Regions from separate parts of the Homo sapiens genome. Here regions 2 and 3 are each linked to region 1. Evidence: promoter capture Hi-C in 16 types of primary human blood cells and fetal thymus (Javierre and others, 2016). All regions are on one chromosome and are shown on one strand. Each heading gives the region's core, a stretch centred on a gene start or on the middle of the fragment in contact. The rest is flanking DNA. Distances are from core to core; before and after follow the strand shown.

Region 1 (2,730 bases), core at 162-2,661:
TGGCTCACACCTGTAATCTCAGCACTTTGGGAGGCTGAGGCAGGTGGATCACTTGAGGTCAGGAGTTCGAGACCAGCCTGGCCAACATGGTGGAATGGTGGAACTCCCATCTCTACTAAAAATACAAAAAATTAGCTGGCATGCGCCTGTAATCCCAGCTACACAGGAAACTGAGGTGGGAGAATCACTTGAACCCGGGAGGCGGAGGTTGCAGTGAGCCGAGATCGCACCACTACACTCCAGCCTGGGCAACAGAGTGAGACCCTGTCTCAAAAATTAATTAATTAATTAAACAAACAGAATAAAAAAAATCTATTGAATACCTACTATGCCAGGCATTGTTTTAGACACTGGGGATACTGTGATGAGCAAGAAAACATCCCAGACCTCTGGAGTTTGCTTTGTAGTGGGGAGATGATCAATAAACAATAAATATTTAATATAATGTCAGATAATGATAAGTACTATGAATGAAAACATTAAAGCAGGGTAAAGGAGAATAGGGATGCTGATTTAGATTGAGTGGCCAAGGAAGGCTTCTCTAAAGTGATGACACTTGAGCAAAGACACAAATGAGAGTCAATATTTGGAGGAAGAACATTCCAGGTATGGGGAATAGCAAATTTAGAGACCCTGAGGCAGAAATATGCTTAATGCATTGGAGGAAAACATGCCATTTATTCATTAGGCAATTATTGTGTGCCAAGCACCTGCTAGGGAGTATGAAGATGCAATCAAACATAGTTTTTGCCCTGAAGAAGCAGCAGGGCAAAAGTGGTATAACATGTAAATAAATAATTACACTGCACGGGACAGCTACAGTAAAGCTATGTACAAGTTGCTAGTGATGCCCAGCAAAAGGAGCACTAAAGGGAAATCTTTCTGGGGGAGGTGACATTTTAGCTGATGGTTTGAAGGAATAGGAGGAATTGATGATGCAAAGGAGGAGGAGAGAGATTAGACATCTTAAGGCCCGATGTCCTGAAAACAAAGGACAATTTGGGAACCTGAAGTTCCCAGGAGAGGCAAAAAATGAGGCTGATGAAGGTGGAAGAGCCTGGATCATGCGGATCTTTGAATGCCAAACTGAAAAGCTGGTTTTATTCTCTGGATGACGGGGAACCAGTAGCACGATTCTCTCTCCCACTGTATCTTTGAGATGTGTTCCCCTATTCTTTTTTTTTTTTTTTTTCTTTCAGTACTGGATTCTTTCCCCGCTTCCCGCTATTGCCCTGCTCCTGACACCTCCTTCCTTCTGTGGCCAGTCCTCCAATCCCTGCTTTCAGGAGAGCCCCATTTTTCACCATCACCTACCTAGTGTCCCACCTCCCCAACCCGAGGCCCCGCCCCCATGGCCCCGCCTCAGATGACGCGACACGCCAAGTGCGTGGGGATTCCCGCGGCCCTGGCCACTACCCGGCCTGCCCCGCGGCAAGATGGCGGCCTGAACGCAGCTGGCAGCGGCGGAAAGTTTGTTGTGGGGTTGGAGTAGTCGGGCGGGGAAGCCAGAGTTGGGGAGGATTGCGGGGGCCCTAGCCTGTAGTAGGGGCGAAGGGGGTACTGGCTCCAGGGTTGAAAAGAGGAGATGGAATGGAGTAAGGTCCGAGGCGGAGAGGAAAAAAAGGAGCTGGGGCGGACCGGGGCCCTAGGGTCCAGTGGCAGCCCTAGGGGAGGGGGATTTGGGGGCGGGGCAGCCAGAAGTAGGTGTTGTGCAGGCCCTGGAGAAGCAGAGTCACAAGTTGGAGGAAAATTTCTTAGCCGCGAATAAAGAAGCCTGGAGCGTGGGATAGAGGCCCGACTGTATCTGGCCGGCCAGAGGGGAAAGGGATCTTTCTAGTAGAGTGGGATAGTGAGGAAGAGAGATCTGGAGGATGCCGGGCAGATCTGCTAAGGAGGGAACTAAAGCCAGTCAAATGACCCTCTTCTAGGCTTAGATCAGCCTTTCCACAGCTGTTAGCAGCATCTGCCCCAATTTCAGCTGAAGATTCAGGTGCCCCAGGGACTGGAAGAAATTACAGTGCCTACTTGGAAAGAAGAAGAGATAGCGACTTGCCCCAGTCCAACCCCAGAGCGGGTAAGGTGGCTTCCAGTGACAGGTTTCTGGCTGGCATGCTCCCTGGGAGGAGGATGCATGGGCTTAGAGTGATGCCAAGAAACATTTGGTCTGAAAAGGGCTCACTTTTATAGAGTTTGTCCTTTGTCTGAGGTCCTTAAGTTAGTGTTTGGCGTAGATTGCAGGCTGACTTTTGAGAGTTGGTGTAGAATTAAGCCTTGTGTGCCTTCACCTATGCAAGTAAACCTGGACAGAGGCCTAGAGACCAGGCCGAAGGATGTTAACACATCCCTGTCACAAGCAGTTTCCTACATGCTCATTGTTTCTGCTTCAATATCCCCATCACTTCTTCACTTTGGCGTCCTGCCTGGAAGTGGAGATTTGTGGGTGACAGATGGTGGGGAGTCACGAGAAAACAAATTCTGATCGTGTTCACTGACCATTTAGGTACCTGCTGTCACTGACTCCTGAATTCATTCTCGCTGTGTGTCTACTTTTGCTTTTTTGGTAAGAAGGGCTCATTAGTGTTCCTCTGGGGATGTGGATTTTGGTGGGGGTATCAGAGGTGAGGGAAAGGCAGGTTGGGATTAGAGAGAAAAAATGTAGATCAGTTTCTGGTAAGAGATCAAGTGGACTGATGTAAAGCTCTGGGAATGTTTAGCACCGCACTGCCTATC
Region 2 (2,730 bases), core at 157-2,656, 180 kb before region 1:
CCCTCTTAGATTTGTGTTTAAATGTTCACTGTGGCCAGTGTATGGAGAATGGGTTGAAAGGGGTGAGACTGGAGACAGGGAGGGTTAGCTTATTTTAACCCTCCTGTAAGCTCCCTAAGGGTAGGGACCGTGTCTGAGGCATCTATGTACCCTCTAGAATGGCGAGGATGCACTAGAGACTCAAACATTTCTTCTCATTGTCACCCCCTGTCACTGCCACCACCATTAGCTGCCTCTTGCTTCACTCCATGGCTGTCAGCACCCCCATTAACACACGCCATGCCATCGATTTAGCTCCTTTCCCAGCGCTTTCTCAGGGATCCCAGCCTGGAGCAGACTGGGACATCACCAGCTCAGCAGCTTAGGTCAAAAGTGAGATTCCTGGTCTGGAGTCAGGGGACCTGGTCTTTTCTTCAGCTCTGCTGCTGAGTCATTGTGTGACCCCAGCAGGTCCCCTCCCTGTCTTTAGTTTTCTGACCTGTTCAAAGTAGGAGCTGGATTAAACCAGTGGGTCTGCCAGCTAAGTGTTTGGAGAATCAGATGAGAATAAACCAGACATTGCTGGTTTCTGCTGTACTTTTGCTGCAGGGACCATGATTGAGAATTGAGTGGGAGGGTCAGATTGAACATTTGAGTCTTAGGTATTGCATGTACCTTTGACAAGACCTTGGTAACTCCCCCTCCCCCATTCCCTACCCCTCCAAAAGGTAATCTTAGGCATTGCAGGTACCTTGGCAACATGTCCCCCGCCATTCCCTATCCCTCCAAAAGGTAATTTAGGAAGCTGCTGGAAATAGGGGAATGGGACAGGCAGTTGGAACCATATGTATGGGGAGAGTCCCTGAGTGAAGTGGGAATGGGATGAGCCTGGGATCCTCAGAGACATCAAGTTGCCCGGTGTGATCACAGGTGTGTCTTAGGCCAGGGCATCAGCTCCCAGCAGGGGAGAGGGATGCGAGGAGGCCTCATGGCTCAGCAGAAAGAAACCTGGTTAGGATCCAGCTTTCAGTCCTGAATCCTGGGCTGTCGGCCAGGCCATGGCTGTAGCTGCAAATAGGCAAGGCTGACCTAAGGTCTCACAGGACAAAGGGCACCCTGGGAGAGCTGGCCCCAGGCCCCAGGGGCCTCCTCTTCTTAGGGATCCTGGGAGCTCTGCTGACCAAGGGGCTAGGGGCTCACCTCCTATGCCATCACCCAGCTACCTCATCATGGTAGCCTTGGTCCCTGAACACTAATGGGTAAGCCCCAGAGCCACGAGCCAGTGACCTCTGAATGGATGGCTTCCCCTTCCCCCAGGCACCAGGCAAGACAGGTAGAGGTCCCTGGAGACCTGATGGCTGGGGAGGGCCCAGTCCTGGGCCAGCCCCTGAGGGCTGGATTCTGGCTGCAGGCTCTCCAGTCCATCCACTCCCACCTCCAGAGTCCAAGGGTCTATGTGGTGGGCAGTTTGAGCTGGCTGGATACTAGAGGGAGGCTGCACCTGAAGCATTTGGTGGGTGAGCAGCATGGGCTTTGAGGAGCTGCTGGAGCAGGTGGGCGGCTTTGGGCCCTTCCAACTGCGGAATGTGGCACTGCTGGCCCTGCCCCGAGTGCTGCTACCACTGCACTTCCTCCTGCCCATCTTCCTGGCTGCCGTGCCTGCCCACCGATGTGCCCTGCCGGGTGCCCCTGCCAACTTCAGCCATCAGGATGTGTGGCTGGAGGCCCATCTTCCCCGGGAGCCTGATGGCACGCTCAGCTCCTGCCTCCGCTTTGCCTATCCCCAGGCTCTCCCCAACACCACGTTGGGGGAAGAAAGGCAGAGCCGTGGGGAGCTGGAGGATGAACCTGCCACAGTGCCCTGCTCTCAGGGCTGGGAGTACGACCACTCAGAATTCTCCTCTACCATTGCAACTGAGGTACTTAAGCCCAGAAGTTGAGAGACATGTGAGAGGGATGGGCCTGCCATTGCCTTGGGTGGTTACTGTGTAGGCATTAGATGTATTACTTTACCTCTTAAAGTCTCAGTTTACCAATCTGTAGATGGGGGCTATGAATATAAGGCACTTTTAGTTCATGGCTTGTAGTAACAGGATCCTACACAAGAACTGTTATCATCATCATTAATTGGGAGGTGATTAAGGCAGGGAAGGGCTAAAGTGGCTTCAGGGAGTTGAGACAAAGAGCTGAGAAGGCAATTTCTGCAGCAAGAGGTGGAGAAACAATAGAGGCCTTCTTTTCTCCCTTCCTCTTTTCCAGTCCCAGGTCGGTATTTACATAATCCATCTGGAGGTGGAATGTCGGTGGAGGCAGTCTCCCTGGGAGGCAGCAGGTCGAGGCCTTCCTTGGGAAGAAGCTGAGGCTGCAGGACTGGGGAGGGACAAAGTTTCCTATTCCCCAAGCTGGCGTGAATCGTTGGGAGGTTTATTATCTGGCATGGAGGTACCAGAATGGCAGAGTTCGCCTCAGAAGGCTCCAGGGTCTGGAGAGGAGGAGCTGGTGCCTGCTGGAGAGGGGCTGATGTTCATAGGAGGTCCCTTTCTGCCTGTCCTTGCAGTGGGATCTGGTGTGTGAGCAGAAAGGTCTGAACAGAGCTGCGTCCACTTTCTTCTTCGCCGGTGTGCTGGTGGGGGCTGTGGCCTTTGGATATCTGTCCGACAGGTGGGGTGAGGCACTGGGCCAATAAGAAACTGGCTGGGGGAACTTTCTCCCACTAGCTGGGGTATGAGCCTAGTCTACCTATGCCTTAGA
Region 3 (2,730 bases), core at 170-2,669, 160 kb before region 1:
ACTGCAATCTCTGCCTCCCAGGTTCAAGTAATTCTCCTGCCCCAGCCTCCCTAGTAGCTGGGATTACAGGAGTGTGCCACCATGCCCGGCTAATTTTTGTATTTTTAGTAGAGACAAGGTTTCACCATGTTGGCCAGGCTGGTCTTGGACTTTTGACTTCAAGTGATCCACTCACCTTGGCCTCTCAAAGTGCTGGGATTACAGACATGAGCCACCACCCAGCCCATCATCTTTATTATTGATAAAGGACAGGTTGTAGTTTAGAAAGTGAAATAAATATGGTAACTTCCTGCCTACCTCCTCCACTCCAATCTGGGCTTTGTCTGCCCCCTTAGTCTGTGAGATCCATGAGAGCAGGGACCAGGCTGCTTTGCCAACCATTGCATATATTTCCAGTGCCTTGCTCAAATCTCTGGCACATAGTGCTCAACAAATACTTGCTGGTGAATGAATGTTACATGTTATATACAAGTCCCCCTGAGTGTGATAGATGAGTGCTAGTGAGAGATGTGGGAATAAGAGGGGACTGGTAGAGGTTGAGAGTTGGTAACAACGAGTGTCCTGGAGTGAAGGAAGTTCAGCTGCCTAGGAATAAGGTCTCAGGAATTTGTTTCCTTTTTTCCTTCAAGAGACAGGATCTTGCTCTGTCACCCAGGCTGGAGTACAGGTCACAGCTCACTGTAACCTGGAACTCCTGGGCTCAAGCAATCCCCCCATCAGTCTCCTAAGTAGCTAGGACTACAGCCATGTGCCACTGTACCTCGCTAATTTTTTATTTTTTGTAGAGATGGGGTTCCACTACGTTGCCCAGGCTAGTCTTGAACTCCTGGCCTGAAAAGATCCTCCTGCCTTGGCTTCCCAAAGCGCTGTGAGTCACTGTGCCCCGCCAGGAGTTTTGTTTCTCAATATACATGAGGATCAACATGTATGATACAAAACAGAAAATATAACTTAACTGATCCTGATTATAAATAGTAGGTAACTAATTAAGTAAATAGAGAACTGAAAATTTGCTTTTGGTAGCAAACAAGTCCCACCAATTGTAGTCATTCATAAGAACTTACTAATTAAGCTTAATTAGCATGTGGCACAATTATGTCTATCATTAATTATGTGGCAAATAAGAGAATGTGGGGAAGTGTTATGTAAACTATAAAGCAACCTTATAAATAAGGCTGCTATTATGTGTCAGGTTAGCTTTGCAGTGAATTTGATTACAACAACAAACTCCACCCATTTATGTCTTTGTAGGCTTGTTCAAGTACATGGTCATATGCCTGTGACTTTTTTTTTTTTTTGAGACAGAGACACACCCTGTAACCCAGGCTGGAGTGCAATGGCGTGATCTTGGCTGGCTGCAACCTCTGCCTCCCGGGTTCAAGCAATTCTCCTGCCTCAGCCTCCCAAGTAGCTGGGATTACAGGCATGCACCACCATGCCTGGCTAATTTTTTGTATCTTTAGTACAGATGGGGTTTCACTTTGTTGGCCAGGCTGGTCTTGAACTCCTGACCTTGTGATCTGCCCACCTTGACCTCCCAAAGTGCTGGGATTACAGGCGTGAGCCACTGTGCCCGGCCATGCCTGTGACTTTTAAGGCATTACCCAGAACTTTGTTCTTAGATAACTCTTTTGAAAGGGAAATCACTCAGTTCTGGTAAGTTAATGAAAAATCAGTCTTATTTCTTTATAGTTGTGTTTCTTAATCCTTACTACCCATAAACCTTTTGCTTTCTCATTGCATCTTCTGCATGTCTGCTCCAACTACAAAGCTTTACTTTCTGTAGTTTATATTACTTTTTAAAAAGGGAAACACACACAAAACAAAAAAAGACTGAATTTGCTTTCTTAAAACATACTAATCACCCCACCCACAGAGAACTGCTGCTGTATAGTTATAAACATCATTTATGGCTCTAGCAAGAGTCTGTTTAATTTTTTTCCCCCTCATTTTCCAGCATCATCTTGCCATTACATGAACCTGTTGAGAGTACTCTGTATAAAGCTAATAGTGGTTAGCTGCTTAGGGATATTGAGTAGGCTACATTTTGTGATTCAGTGGCATCAACTAGACTAATTCAGAATCAAGACTGCAGGAAAGGACACCCTAAACCTTTGCCATGAGTGCCTTCAACCTATGTTTGCGAAGAAATCAATAACATCTTTAAACGATGGTTTTTCATGCAAAGATGGATTTGGCTTTTCAAGTATTCACTTAGAAATGTGTATTTCATCTGAAAATATATAAAAATAACTACCTACAAATAATTTGCAGCATGAAAAATGTATCCATATGCTGGAAACTGAGGAGGAATAGAAAGAAGTGAAACTTGGTAGTCAGCTTGCTTATAAATCTGATAGATGGTGGCAATGCTCCGTGGAGTTGGCGTAAAGTCCTAGTAACTTCCTCATCTTCATGCTAAGGTCTGGAGGGTAATTTTTAAATAATATACAAAAATAGTCCTTACAGGTCATGAGACTATGTTAATGCTATGTTAATGAGGCTAAAACAGTTTAATCTTGTGATTCATACAAATGCAAATGCTTACCTTTCCATAGAGGAGTCTTTCATTTCCTCTATGAAGCTCAAGGTCACAGAATCAGGAGTCAAATTCCACCCTCTTCCCAAATCCAAAATGATTGGGCTTTTCCTCTTCTTCTCCTGGGCTTTTGGAACAGGCAGAGCTATAAAGCGCTTATTTGTAATTTCTACCCTCCTATTACCAAAAAA

The links. Contacts are between HindIII fragments. The CHiCAGO score rates a contact against its expected background, and 5 or more counts as called.
Region 2: a contact is called between the fragment with the promoter of SLC22A7 here and the fragment with the promoter of TJAP1 in region 1, in 1 of 17 cell types (erythroblasts). The highest score is 5.7, in erythroblasts.
Region 3: a contact is called between a fragment that was not itself captured here and the fragment with the promoter of TJAP1 in region 1, in 3 of 17 cell types (activated CD4 T cells, erythroblasts and naive B cells). The highest score is 6.1, in activated CD4 T cells.

What each region holds. Positions count from the first base shown.
Region 1 is chr6:43,476,159-43,478,888 of GRCh38, forward strand. It overlaps TJAP1 (tight junction associated protein 1), which reads left to right and starts at 1,412. Exons shown (of 11, transcript NM_001350562.2): 1 at 1,412-1,470; 2 at 1,929-2,074. RefSeq lists an enhancer at 1,762-2,555. The HindIII fragment of the contact is 14,243 bases long and covers 1-2,730 here.
Region 2 is chr6:43,296,854-43,299,583 of GRCh38, forward strand. It overlaps SLC22A7 (solute carrier family 22 member 7), which reads left to right and starts at 1,407. Exons shown (of 11, transcript NM_153320.2): 1 at 1,407-1,898; 2 at 2,239-2,244; 3 at 2,537-2,640. The coding sequence starts at 1,506. LOC124901319 (a long non-coding RNA gene) reads right to left here. Exons shown (of 2, transcript XR_007059582.1): 2 at 2,089-2,730. The HindIII fragment of the contact is 22,683 bases long and covers 1-2,730 here.
Region 3 is chr6:43,315,754-43,318,483 of GRCh38, forward strand. No RefSeq gene overlaps it. Among named protein-coding and RNA genes, the nearest start is that of CRIP3, 8.3 kb to the left of the region's middle. The HindIII fragment of the contact is 699 bases long and covers 1,071-1,769 here.